3 separate regions of the Homo sapiens genome follow, and all the other regions are linked to region 1. Evidence: promoter capture Hi-C in 16 types of primary human blood cells and fetal thymus (Javierre and others, 2016). All regions are on one chromosome and are shown on one strand. The core of a region is centred on a gene start or on the middle of the fragment in contact, and the rest is flanking DNA. Distances in the headings are between cores, read along the strand shown.

Region 1 (4,448 bases), core at 671-3,170:
ACTCCGTCTCAAAAAAATAAAATAAAATTGTAATGAAAAGAACTTGTCACATGAGGTGACATAAGGAATTCTCCCAAATAATCTACAGAGTTAAAGAAATAAATTGGCTGACAGAATGGCTTGCCTTAATTCTAGTCACAAGTAGAAAACTGCAGAGCTGGAGTTTGTTAGCTTAGCATCCCAGCTCTCAGGTTTCTAGGTCTAGTGTGACCTTGAACAAGTAAAAATAGTAACAGTTTCTTCTACTCCACTGTTAATGACGACATCATTTCCATTCTATTTAAATGCAACACCTTTTCAAAAAATAAATACATTTAGCTGGTGTAATGGAACACGTCTATAGCCCCAGCTACTGGGGAGGCTGAGGTGGATCACTTGAGCCCAGGAGTTTAAGGCCAGCCTGGGCAACATGGCAAGACCCCATCTCTAAGAAATAAAATTTAATTTTACTAAAATAATTTAAGTAAAATACTCCGCAAACTCACATTATATTTAAAGTCCAGGCCTTTTACAAATACTGCTAAAATATTTATATGATAGTATTAAAGAGATCAAATCTTTCTCTAAAGACCTTGTAAATACCGTGTATCCCCTGGTCCTCTTATTTCTTGACAAGAAATAAAATTTGGCTGGGCACAGCGGCTCACGCCTGTAATCCCAACCCTTTGACAGGCCGAGGCAGGAGGATGATTTGAGGTCAGGAGTTTAAGACGAGCCTGGCCAACACGGTGAAACCCCGTCTCTACTAAAAATACAAAAAAAAAATCAGCCGGGGTGTGGTGGAGCGCGCCTGTAATCCCAACTACTGGGGAGGCTGAGGCAGGAGAATCGCTTGAACCCGGAAGGCGGAGGTTGCAGTGAGCCAAGATCACGTCACTGCACTCCAACCAGGGTGACAGAGCGAGACTTCACCTCCAAAAAAAAAGAAATAAAATTTACTTGAAATCCTACATCAAATTTCAAGGGAACAGAAGCGTTCCCCATACATCTGAAAATGAGTTTCACAGTGTATACACTTCAAAATGTAAAAGGCATGCCTAATTCCTCAATGCTGAAATGTAATTAGATTCCAATTTCCATTTTAAGCATTTCTTCCAAGTTTTAACCAGGTTTGCCAATCCTGATATTTTACAGAGTAGAATTAGAAGACAATTTATTCAGATCAAAATAAAAGAATTAACATCTGCATCCCCCTTTTCCCAGGGACCAAAGTAATTCTTAAAAGTACAGCCACCTCATAAAAGTAGAACAAGCTCAAAGTCAGGTTAACCTGGCTCTTTCGGTTCTATTTCCAGGTGCTGCATCCAATTTTTTGCAAATTAACACTTCTAAGCTTCTACTCAAGGGCAGAAAAGGAACTACATATAGTTGTCACCACAAACCCTCTGGATTTGGAACTACCATAAAAGTAAGCACTTTCCAGCCGTTCTCCTGGACTCGCGGAGGCTGAGGACCCCGGGGCCCTCGGCCTGCTACTTCTGCAAGCCCCGCAGAGGGGGCTCCTCCCGCGCTCCAGCCACGGACACCTGGGAGAGGTCGCGAAGAGCCGCTGGGGCTCCCCAGGCCCGACACGACGCCCGCCCTCCCCGCCTCACTTGGGACACCAGACCTCGGACGCCCTACCTGCGCTCGACCCGGACGCCGGAGAAGGCGCGCGGCTCCCGAAGGCCCCGTACTCCAGCCGGCTACCGGCCCCGAAGGCCCGCTGCTGGAGGACGCCCGGGAGACAGAGGCCCGGGGACCTCGGAGCGCGGCGGCCGCACACAATGCAGTCCTCCTTCCGCAGAGAGGCAGTTCGACCGCCCACGGGCTGCCCAACGCCAGAAACAGCATCACGCGGGTGACGAGCGGCTGCGGACGCCCCAGCTGCACGAGTCCACGACTGCGAGACACGGCTTCCCACCCGACTGCCGCACAAGTGGCGCATGCCCAGCCCGGGACGCCTGACTGGCAGCTGGGCTGCCTGCGCGTGCGCAGAATCTGCCGCCCGCCTGCCGCCCGCCTGCCGCCCGCCTGCCGCCCGCCTGCCGCCCGCCTGCCGCCCGCCTGCCGCCCGCCTGCCGCCTTCCCGGCCGCGCGCGTTATCCGCCAGCTGAGCTGGGAGCCCGCCGCTCTGTCCTTGGCTCAGCGGCTCCTCCTTCCTAGAATTTTACCTTCTTTATAACAGTGTGGAGGGGCAGAGGGCTGTACGAGAATGACAATGCCCAGAAGCCAGGGTTAAATATTTTTTTTTCTCGTGGACGACATCACTAAAAACTGTTTCCTTTGCGGAAAATGATTCTAGCCTGTTGGCACAGAAGAAAGAATATACGATTTGAACAAAAATGAGTGATAACTTAATTGAATCATCGGGTTGGAGGAAAATAAATGGAATTGTTCATGTAATATTGATAGGTGTTACCAGATTTGTCTTCGGAAATCATTCACATCCATATACACATTGATTCATTACTTGTTAAAGAGGTACTGAATCTATTGCCAGGACTGAGCTAGGAGCAGAGGATACAAAATACTAGATTAAACTGGGAATCCACAGTGCTTAAACAGTGGAGGAAAATACCTGAAAATTGGCTAGAATATAATGTAATACAATTGAGACACCGCAATATACAAAATGTGGCTGGCCGTGGTGGCTTACACCTGTAATCCCAGCGCTTTGGGAGGTTTAGGCAGGAAGATCTCTTGAGGCCAGGAGTTTGAGACCAGCCTGAGCAATACAGGGAGACCCCGTCTCTACAAAAAAAAAAAAAAAAAAAAAACCTAAAACAAAAATAAGCCACACATGGTAAGTGTGTGCCTGTGGTCCCAGCTACCCAGGAGGCTGACATGGTAGGATTGCTTGAGCCCAAAGTCGAGGCTTCAGTGAGCCAAGACCACACTACTGCACTCCAGCCTGGACCACAAAGTGACACCGTGTCTCAAAAAAAAGAACAAACAAATGCCACAGAAGTACAAAGAAGAACATGATTAATTTTGCCTCAGAATGTCTTCAGACTGGCTTCACATTTAGCTCAGTCTTGAAGGATGAGCATCTTAGTAATAGAAACACACTTTTGTTTACCACTGCAGAACTATACATGTTTTTGATTTGACATGTTATTTGCACCGGAGAGGAACAAATTCATAGTCTAAAATAATGTGTGGCCAGGGGCGGGAGCTCACGCCTGCAATTCCAATACTACGTGGAGGCCCAGGTGAGAGGATCACTTGATTCCAGGAGTTTGAGACCAGCCTGGGCAACAAAGTGAGACCCTGTCTCTACAAAAAATTTTTAAATTAGCTGGGCATGGTGGCACCTGCCTGTAGTCCCAGCTACTTGGGAGGCTGAGGTGGAAGGATCACTTGAGCCCAAGAGGTTGAGGCTGCAGTGAGCCCTGATTGCACCACTGCACTGAGTGACACAGCTAGACCCTGTCTCAAAAATAAAAATAAAAATAAATCAATAGAATATGATCATGTTGGCAACTCCAAATACTGTCTATTGGGGGGAGTATTCAGAAGGAGATAATGATAATACCTCTATATGGATAACTTTATTTTATAAAAAGTTAGCTTCTACTTACATTTTGTTTATTTTTATTTTAATATTTGTTTTAATAGTAGAGATGGAGTTTCACCATATAGCCCAGGTTGGTCTCAAACTCCTGAGGCTCAAGCTATCCGCCCACCTCAGCCTCCCAAAGTGCTGGAATTACAAGGGTGAGCCACTGTGCCCACCTTTTATTTTGTTTTTGAGACAGGGTCTTGCTCTGTCGCCCAGGCTGGAGTGCAGTGGCACCATCATAGCTCACTGCAGCCTTGACCTCCCAGGCTCAAGTGTTCCTCTCACTTCAGCCTCCCAAGTACCTGGGACTACAGGCCACGTCACCATGCCCAGCTAATTTTTGTATTTTTAGTGGATACAGGGTTTCCTTTTGTTGCCCAGGCTGGTCTTGAGCTCCTGGAATCAAGGGATCCTCCCGCCTGGGCCTCCCAAAGTGTCACAGAACCTGAGCTACCACACCTGGCCTATTTACATTTTAAAAACTCTTCTGTTTAGGGTAATTCACTCACAATCAATATTCACTCTATTATTTTGCTGATATATTTAAAATTTTCACATAAAAATGTTTTTCTTAACTATATTAAGAGAACTCAAATTTTTTATCTTCTGTAAAGCTGTTCCCCCTACAAATACTGTAAGTAAATGAAAATAAAAACTTTTGTTTGATCTATTTCTCAAAATTTCTAAATAGATAAAATCAGATTATAGTCTGAAAACTCTGTACCATAGATTTACATAGAATTGTTATTTATGTTAGATGGATTTTCCAGTTCCAGTAAGTTAGAGACATTTGTTAAATATAAACTAATGGGATTTTAGAATGATTTTAAGGATGTTTTTAGGCCGCGCGCAGTGGCTCACGGCTGTAATCCCAGCACTTTGGGAGGCCAAGGTGGGCGGATCA
Region 2 (4,448 bases), core at 855-3,354, 3.6 Mb after region 1:
TGTCAGACGTTTTTGTTTATTTCTTGTAAGAAAAAGTCTTCAGCCGTCGTAAGACGTTTTATTGGGTAATACGGGAATGCAATGGGGGGAGTCATTTGTTTGCAGAGGTATCATGGGTAGTTTTAAAAAGTGTGAAATCTACGATTGCAGAGGACTGATAGACTCTGGACTTCTGCCAAAATGGGAGGGATAGCAAGCAAGAAGGAGAATCTTTTTTTTAAATTTTTATTTATTTATTTATTTATTATCACAACTCCTGATAACTCACAGTTGGGGGTGAGGACAGGAAAGCAAATCGGGAGTTCAGAATTGTGACAAACCTCAGGTGACTACTACCCCATTGTAGACAAGCTACAGACTGGTATTAGCAGAAGATAGGCCATAAACAAACTCTCCATTTCCTCTCAACGCTTTGGGAACATAATTCTATTATTCCAGCTAGCTAAAAAAAAAAAAAAAAAAAAAAAAAAAAAACCTTTAAAAATATACATTAATACATAGTCAATGCAAACATTTCAAACATTAGATAGGTGTGCAAAATAAAAAGTGGAAGTGCCTCATCACCCACTTCTTACACTCCCCAGCGCTAACATTTGTTGTTATAGGCTTCCAAGCATTTTCTATCCACAAACAAACACAGACACACACACCCCACACATTTTTTTTATTCTTTTCCCAAATAAAATTGGCGGTACACCCACAAATTTTAGGATGAAGACATGTTTAAAAGCATGGGCTTTGGAGCTCACCAGAACTGGGCTCACATCCTCTCCAACTACTGGCTGTGACCCTGGGCAAATTACTTTAAGCTTCAATTTTTTGTGTGAAGTGAAAAGCGGCAATGACTTCGGAAGGTTTGAGGATTAAGGCCTATAGCATATATACATCACCTAGCACAGTCAGATTCACAGTAAGTGTTCAATAAACACTCTTATTGTCTACCGCAAGTGACCTTTCTCATTATAAGATTAAAATCAGGGAATATGTTCCTCTCATAGTTTGATAACTGCCATTAAACAAAAGTTTTTTTTTTCAACTAATTACCGTATAAGTTGGAAAAAAAACTTGCTTTTCCAAAGCGTAAAACAGATTGGTCTAAGTAACACTTAAATGGGGGTTCTCGCATTTTCAGTGCCAATCTCCTACGTCCCCTCAGTACTTTGTTCACGGATGTCTAGAGAATGGACTTTCCAATACAAACTTATGATTTCATGATGTGCCGAAAATTCTCAACCAGGTTAAGTTTCACACTCTGTGTGCAGCATTTGCTTTATCCCGCAATTGCCGGGTGGTGCCCCTTCCAGCTCCCACAGTCGCGCCTCTCCATCCCCTCTGGAGCTAGGACTGCAATGGGAGAAGCCTCTCCCTGTTGGAGCCGTAGGGGACTTGACGGATGCGGGGCGCCTCCGGGGAGCAGCGGCAGGACCGGGAGTTGGGTAGGGTGAGGTGCGCCCGAGGGGGTGCAGGGTGCTGGCCGAAGGGTCCGGCCGGACGGGCGCGAGGGTCCTCTGCTGGCGACCCTGGAACTCGGCTCTCCCCGATCTTCGTCCTGGGGCACCGTCCCTGCCGTCTGCAGCCCCCAGGCCCCACTGCCTCTAACTCAGCGGCCCAGGCCCGTCCCAGTCGCTAGTTTTCTTTTTGGCATTGCCCTTTGCCCTCCCATGCAGTCCTCTGTTGACTCTCTCTTCAGTTCCAGTCACCTCTAGGTCACCCTCCCTCTACCACAGTCACCCATTTTGTCCCCTGTCCCCTTACTCTTCTTCACCTCTCCCCGGGCCGCCTTCTCAGAGGACTCTGCCGACGGAGATGCTGCGGACCCCGCGGCCAGGGGCTGCTCCCCGGACAACCCTGCGTCCACCTTTGCCCCTTCCTCGGGGGCGCGAGAGGCAAGTTTCCGCCCCGTCCTTTTCCCGGTGACAGGACTTGGCGGCGGCCACTGCCGGGGAGGCAGAGGGAGGGACGGCCTGGCTCCCGAGCCCCCTCCCCTGCTCGCGAGCTCGCGCTGTCTGTCTCTCCGCAAGTGCGGAGACGCGGAGGAGGAGGAGGAGGAGGAGGAGGAGGAGGGAGTTGGGGGAGGATCTCCATTGAAATAAACAACCAGGCAGCAGTTATTAACACGGGAACATGGCGGCCGCAGCCTCGGCTACAGCTTCGGCGGCGAAGGTCAGCGCCGACGGCAGCCGGCACCTGACGGCGTGACCGACCCGAGCCGGTAACCGCGCCTTCCCCCGGGGCCGCGAGGGCGGGCGGGGGGCGGGCGGCAGGCGGGGGGCGCCGCGTCCCCACCCCCGGCCGCGACTGCCCTTCCTGCGCCGAGCTCCGACAGAGCCGTGCGCCTCCGAGAGGCTGTTTTTGTGTGCGGGGACCGCCGCCGGAGTGCGCGGAAAACGGGAGTTGCATCCCGGAGGCGCAGCGACGCTGGGGAGTTGGGGCTTGGGGGTGGGGAGGGCGGGAAGCGACGGGGAGACGCGGAGTCCCCGGGAGAGAAAGGAGGCGCTCCAGCGCCTTGCGAGAGCTCAGGAGACGAGTCCCGGAGCGCGAGGCGGGCGGAGGCTGCAGCCCGCGGCGCGGGCGAGAGGTGAGCGCCGAGGCGCGGCCGGGGGTGCGGGCGCGGCCCCCGCCCCGAGGAGCGAGTGCCCATTGCCCAGCCCGGTGCGGGGTCGGCGGAGACCGAGGCTCTAACCCCTCGGGGGCAGCGCGGCAGAGCCGAGAAGGTGAATCCTGGGAAGGTGCATTCTTTAATGGAAGCGCGGAGCGGCTGCAGCGGAGAGTGGGAGCCGGGCGAGGGGAGGCAGGACTCGGGAAGTGCTGGGGGTGTGTGAAGGTGAAGCGGGGTGTCGGGGCGGCCGGCGAGCTGCAGCGCGGGGCGGGGAAGGGGAGCCGCGGCCCGGCGGGTGGCCCGGGCCCGTGTCAGCCCCGGGGGTGGGGGGCGAGGGGCGCCGAGCACCGCGGGCGGACGGGAAGGAGCTGCGGCGGGCGGGGCGGGCGGCGCGCTGGGGCCGAGCAGGCCGGGCCGTGGTGGGGGCGGGGAGCCGGGGGCCGGGCCCCGGCGGCGCCGAGCCGGGCTCGCCCCTGACTGAACTTTCTGGGTGCGGGCGTGTATGCAGGAGGCGCGCTGGGGCCGGGGCCGGGGGCGGGAGGCGGACCGGGAGGTTCCGGGTTGGCTCGCCAGCGCCCCCTTTTCTCGCCCCCTTCTCTCCGCCCCTGAAGGGACAGGCCCTCGGGGCCCCAGGCGGGAAGCGGGAGGGGCCCTGTGGCCGCCTCGCGACGGTCACGCCCCGGGCACGGGGACCCGGCCCTCTCGGGCCCCTGGGGGGTGCTGGGGGAGGGGGCCGGGGTCGTCGCTGCCGGCTGCGCTCCCCGCCTCCTCCCCTCGGGGGAGTCCCAGAGGCGCCTCTTCCGAGACCGGGGGTGGGTCGGTCCCTGGTTAGATGGCCCCTCCCTCTTCCCCTCCCTCTAGTGGTTTCCGGGGCCTGCGGGACCGAGGGGCGGGAATCGGGGACTGGAGCCCCCTTCCGCTGGCCCGGAGCTGGACTGGGCCTCCCGCGTTCTGGGTCCGTCACTGGTAGGGGAAACTTTCCCAAACCAGAGACCGAGCCTGAACACCTTCCTCCGCCACCTCGTCCTCTAATCCCACTCCCTCTCCACCTCCTCCGACGCCTTCCCCTCCCACCGACCCGAATCTCGGTGCGTCTGACTGATGGGGCAGTGAGCCAATCGAAGGCAGGGAGCTGACCTGCCGGGTGTCGGTGAGCCAATCGTGCGGACCGGAGGAAGGAAGGGGGCGGGGTTTCTCCTGACCAGTTAGAGCAGAGTTGCATGCGGGGCGGGGGAGTCATGGAGACGCTGAGAGCCAGCTACTCTTGTCCATCCCCGAGTCACCCGCTCCTTGATTTCTGGGGTTGTGTCACTTATAGGGGCTCCGACCCGCAGAGGCTGCCGAGGCACTCGAGGTCCTGTATGTCTTTCGTACCGAAATAGACGTTGTCTTAGACACGACGAAGTCTAAAGCCACTTTAGGATGTGGCAGTAACTCACCGAGGCCGGTTTCTAAAATGGCATATGCTGTAGTGATCATGTCCTGGACCTCAGCGTCCGGTTTACATGCTAAGGGTCACAGAAGACAGAAGTTACCCGTTTACCTCTTATCTCGGTTTCACTCAGCTATGCCAGAATGGGGACAATGAAATTTGAAAGGGAACCCTGAGAATGAAGGCATGGGAGCAGTATCACGTCAACTGATTATTGGTAGTAGAAAGCATCATTGTTCATAATGGCTTCACTGGTTTCTTGTTTAATTAGAGCTCCAGTTCCCAAAGTGTACTTGAAACTTCGGCATTGGGGATGTCATTAAAAAAAAAAGTTGTGGTTTATGGTATGCATTTTTTTTTCTTTTTGCAAACAAAATGAAGTTGGGAACTAAAGCATCACTGATTGAAACATTAAGT
Region 3 (4,448 bases), core at 1,185-3,684, 3.4 Mb after region 1:
GGCGATTCGCAAGAAAAGCACCAAGAGCCCCCCAGTGCTGAGCCACGAATTCGTCCTGCAGAATCACGCGGACATCGTCTCCTGTGTGGCGATGGTCTTCCTGCTGGGGCTCATGTTTGAGGTGAGCCCGCCCCGAGTCCCAACCGCCTGCCCCGCCACCTCCAGCCCGGGCCCGGGCTCCAGATGCCAGCCCCGGCTTCTCCGCCCAGGACGCGGGGGGCTCGGGCCCGGGGTGGGTGCAGACCCCCAGTCCCTGAGGTGCAGGCCTTCCCTGCCCTGCCCCACGTCGGCGGCAGCTCCCCGGCGGCCGGCCCGGAGATGCAAAGTCCCGGTGGGCCTCATCGCGGCCCGCAGGGGGTGGGGACCGCCGCGTCGCCCCCTTCCTGACCCGCCGCCGCCCCCTCCCGCAGGCTGCGCGGCGCAGTTCCTGGTTCCCGCGAAGGGTTACGTGGCAGCCGGCGAGGGGCCTGCGGGCGGGGGCGGCCCCTGCGCTGCCGAGCTGGCTCGGGGCGGGTGGGCGGACTTGGGGGGACTGCCAGCCTCGGCCGCGGTGAGCGTCAGCCCCGCGAGGGCCGGGGAAGGCCGAGGCCCGGCCCCCGGGTCTGAGGAGTGCCGGCCTGGAGACCACAGGCCCCGAGTGACAGGGGAGCCCCCGGTAGCTCCGAGATTGGGGTGAGCGAGAAACCGGAGTCAGGCATCTGCTTTCGACTTGAAGGGCGGTGGCCGCCGGGCACCGGCGCAGTGGAGGCGCGCCAGATTGTTTTCATTTTTGTCTTTTAAACTGATATTATTACCAGTTAACGAACTTTTTGCCCTGACGCTTTAAAGAAACAAGGTCTGATGGATAAATCGAGGTTCTGAACAGCGGTGCCAAGGAATCGAGTAATTTTGTTTCTTGAAGTAGGAGAGGATGGGAATGTCAGGAGTGTGTAAATTCTCTTCCCACGTATCTAGTATTTTGATGACTTATTTAACAGCTGTTGAATGTGGATGATAAACTTTGCAAGGTGAACGAGTAACATCCTACGTTTTTCCCCTCGCTCCCCAATACACACGCTCATTCCTTTGCTTTTTTCCCTTTTTAATTTTTCTCTGGAGCCTTTATGTCTCAGTAAATATACAAATTATTTTGCTCCTGCCTTGTTTTGTCTCCTCTCTCCTGCATGTAACAAGTGAGAGTAGAGATTTTGGAGTATTTTTACGAGTCTGTATTTCCAGAGTCTAGGATAGTGCCTGGGACATAGGAGTGCTTAAAAAAAGATGAGCGACGTTAAGAATCCTTGAGAAAACCTAATGGAATGATATTACCAGTGACCAAAAGGTGAATACATTTTCTTTTTAATGGAGCATATTTGTTTTTTTTTTTAATTTTAAAATTAAATAATATTTTAACCTTATTTTCGCCTCTCATCAAATGGGCTTTTCTGGATCTAGATACAGATATTATTTACTCCTGATTGTGTCATGCATGTTTGAAACCACTGCTAAGGAGGTAGCAGGTATAGTTAAAGGGTAGGTAGAAGGAAACTAACATTCTCAAGCTTTAAGTCTGGGCTGTGCCACCTACCTACTGGGTGACCCAAGTCTGAGCCTCAATTTTTCTGCTCTTTATCAGGAAATAATATCACCTGTACTGTTCTCCTCACAGCCATTTTTTGCAAGTATCAGATGATATGGTGTGAAGGTAAATACAGTGCTAGGCCTGGTGCTCTGGCTTATGCCTGTAAACATCCCAACACTTTGGGAGGCCAAGGCAGGAGAATCACTGGAGCCCAGGAGTTCGAGACCAGCCTAGGCAACATAGGGAGACCCTGTCTCTACAAATGATTTTTTAAAAATTAGCCAGGAGTGATAGATAGCACGCACCTGTGGTCTCAGCTGGGCGGCTGAGGTGGGATAATTACTTGAGCCCAGGAGGTGGAGGCTGCGGTGAGCCAAGGTTTCACCACTGCACTCCAGCCTGAAGGACAGAGCAAGAAGACCCTGTCTCAAAAAAAACCCAATGTTAAACATTTGTATTCACTTTCTGAATTTGATACTTGCATGTACTTTCTGCTTTGACCTTAAAGTAGTACTTTAATATATGTAGTATATTCAATTTTCTGTAACTTGTCATAAACCATCTCCACATGGTAAGAATTCCTGACTTTAAAAACATATTTTAGGGGTACTGTGACCTGCAAGGTATATTTGCAGTGCTTTGAATGAAATGAAATATAAATCAGAAATTCTGACACATAGTATAACTTTGATTTTATATAAACTATTTTACATTCTCTTACTATATTTCTAGGGAAGTCCACCACCTATACCTTGCCTCACATGTTAGTGATTTTTTTAAACAGTGGATTTTCACCTTTATATAAATTTATAAAATTTGAAAATCTAAATAGACAAAAATACTAAATAGAGGTTTTTAAGTCAATTCAAAAGTGAGTGTTAAAGTGATACACAAAAGTGAAGTTTGTGCGAGTTCTTCCTTTTTCTTACCATATATTAAGGTGTTAGGATTTCAAAGCATGTTATCTATATATAGGACTTTGTAGACTAGGTTAGTTTTGCTATTCGACTTTTAAAACAATTGCTGCTGAATCTCAAAGTTAACATAATTATAGAATTACAGTACTTGTGCTAGAATAATAGAGAAATTGATTTTTTTTTGCAGAACTGTTAAGCCTGTTGTGCAGATACATTGAGGAAATGTCAGAGGATTTATGGTGACATTGACAAAGAAATTCAGAAAGAAAGAAATACTGTATTACTAGCCAAAATGAAGAAGCAATGGAGATACACTGTAAAAGCATGGATTCTGGAGCTGAAGGGATTCATGTTCAAGTTAGGGCTCTGCAGCTTGCTAACTGGGTGACCTAGGGCAGCTCAGAACTGAAGTTTCCTCATCTGTAAAATGGGGCTTATTGGGTTACTCTGACAAATTAACCAATTTGTATTATGCCTAGTTCAATACTTGACTTCCAAAAGGTGTGCAATAAGTGGTAGCTATTATTATTCTTTAAAAACTCACCAAAATTGGGAAATAGAAAGCATTTTTATGTGAGAGAAGGGCCTGGAATCTCTTTAGTTAGCATCTAAAGAGATTATACATACTGAAAAGGCTAACAAAGTAGTCTGTTTGGCAGTAATGTAAGAGTTTAATTTCCAGGGAACTTCACATTAATCAAAAATTGCTTGTAAATTTTGGAATCATAGTTTTATTACAGTAAATATCTGTCCACATAATTCAAATCATAGTATACAATGAATGGCTTCATATTTGAGTTAGGAAAAATTGAATGGTCAAAAAATGTTAGGGATGCTTGGGAAGCTTTCTGAAAGTGAGTATGTGGAGGAGGGGTGAAGAATTAGGGGTTCACAAGAGAAGTATTTCTTTTAAGGAGTGTATAAAGGAAAGATATTCAAAAGGAAATATATTCAAAAGGAAAGATATTCAAAATCTGCAAGTTCTTTATGCCATACAGATTTTGGGGACGTTTACAATTTCAACAATCTTGAAACAGTTTTCAAGGTTTGGGTTTTTTTTTTCTTTCCTTTTTTTCTTTCTTTTTATGACAGGTAAGGTGCTCAGGTCAGAACAAAGTTTGAGGGAGAGACACATCTCACATATAAGCGTGAAACCCCAATCATCACACTTGTGAACTACAAAAGGGTCTCTCTTTTTTTTGAGACAGGGTCTTGCTATGTTGCCTTGGCTGGAACTTGACCTCCTGGGCTCAAGTGATCCTCCCCTCTCGCCACCTGAGTGGCTGGGACTACAGGCACGTGCCACTGAGCCCCACTGGAAGTGGAATTTGATATTCAGAATTGTCTTTACTTTTCAAGGATCCAGTCCATGTAGTGACTGGTCACATCTTCCTCTAAAACAAGTGCAAAGTAGTTAACATCTCTATATAACAAGAAAGATACCAAGCCCCAACCGGTGACATTTAATTAAAGAAATGTTGTATTTATGACATTGCATACAGCATAGAATTAGGTAATTCATTACAGTTTCTGGTAACCTATTTAAGATGCATCTGAATAAGTCTCTTTTTTCATTTTTCCATTTTTGTAAATGGAGAGCAGCTCTGTAAATGTTCAAACTGTCATAAACTCAGGTATTTTTACTTTCGAGTGCATTATATATTTCTGTAGCCTATTTATATTCTAAACTAACTTATCTTACTACTAATTAATTGTGGTGTGAGTTTAACTGCAGCAATGCTAGCAGGGTGTGAGGCTTAGGAGGCCTGGAAATGGCTAGGAGCAAGACTGCTAGCTTAAACTTGAAACTTTTTGGAGTGTGTAGTTTACATTTTTCCTCTTCTTCTTCTATTTAAACTCACATGCTAAACCAGCTGGAGGTCAAATTTTAATTTTATTTGGAAGCCTGGCTAAAAGGATAATCTAATTTTTGCTGCTTTTAGAATTTGATGCTAAATTTATCTTTGAAG

Evidence for each region. The method cuts DNA at HindIII sites, captures the fragments that hold promoters and counts their contacts. A CHiCAGO score of 5 or more calls a contact.
Region 2: a contact is called between the fragment with the promoter of NCOA2 here and the fragment with the promoter of TMEM70 in region 1, in 3 of 17 cell types (total CD8 T cells, fetal thymus and non-activated CD4 T cells). The highest score is 11.9, in total CD8 T cells.
Region 3: a contact is called between a fragment that was not itself captured here and the fragment with the promoter of TMEM70 in region 1, in 1 of 17 cell types (total CD8 T cells). The highest score is 6.5, in total CD8 T cells.

The regions. Positions count from the first base shown.
Region 1 is chr8:73,973,667-73,978,114 of GRCh38, reverse strand. TMEM70 (transmembrane protein 70) reads right to left here and starts at 1,920. Exons shown (of 3, transcript NM_017866.6): 1 at 1,624-1,920. The coding sequence starts at 1,833. RefSeq lists silencers at 1,572-1,621, 1,787-2,002, 2,052-2,131. The HindIII fragment of the contact is 7,182 bases long and covers 1,336-4,448 here.
Region 2 is chr8:70,401,464-70,405,911 of GRCh38, reverse strand. It overlaps NCOA2 (nuclear receptor coactivator 2), which reads left to right and starts at 2,104. Exons shown (of 23, transcript NM_006540.4): 1 at 2,104-2,212. RefSeq lists silencers at 1,328-1,487, 2,178-2,487, 2,528-2,817, 2,848-3,507 and an enhancer at 1,588-1,707. The HindIII fragment of the contact is 4,231 bases long and covers 812-4,448 here.
Region 3 is chr8:70,603,750-70,608,197 of GRCh38, reverse strand. TRAM1 (translocation associated membrane protein 1) reads left to right here. Exons shown (of 11, transcript NM_014294.6): 1 at 1-121. LOC124902090 (small nucleolar RNA U13) reads right to left here and starts at 3,666; the gene lies at 3,561-3,666. RefSeq lists silencers at 1-35, 86-265, 286-735. The HindIII fragment of the contact is 1,781 bases long and covers 1,544-3,324 here.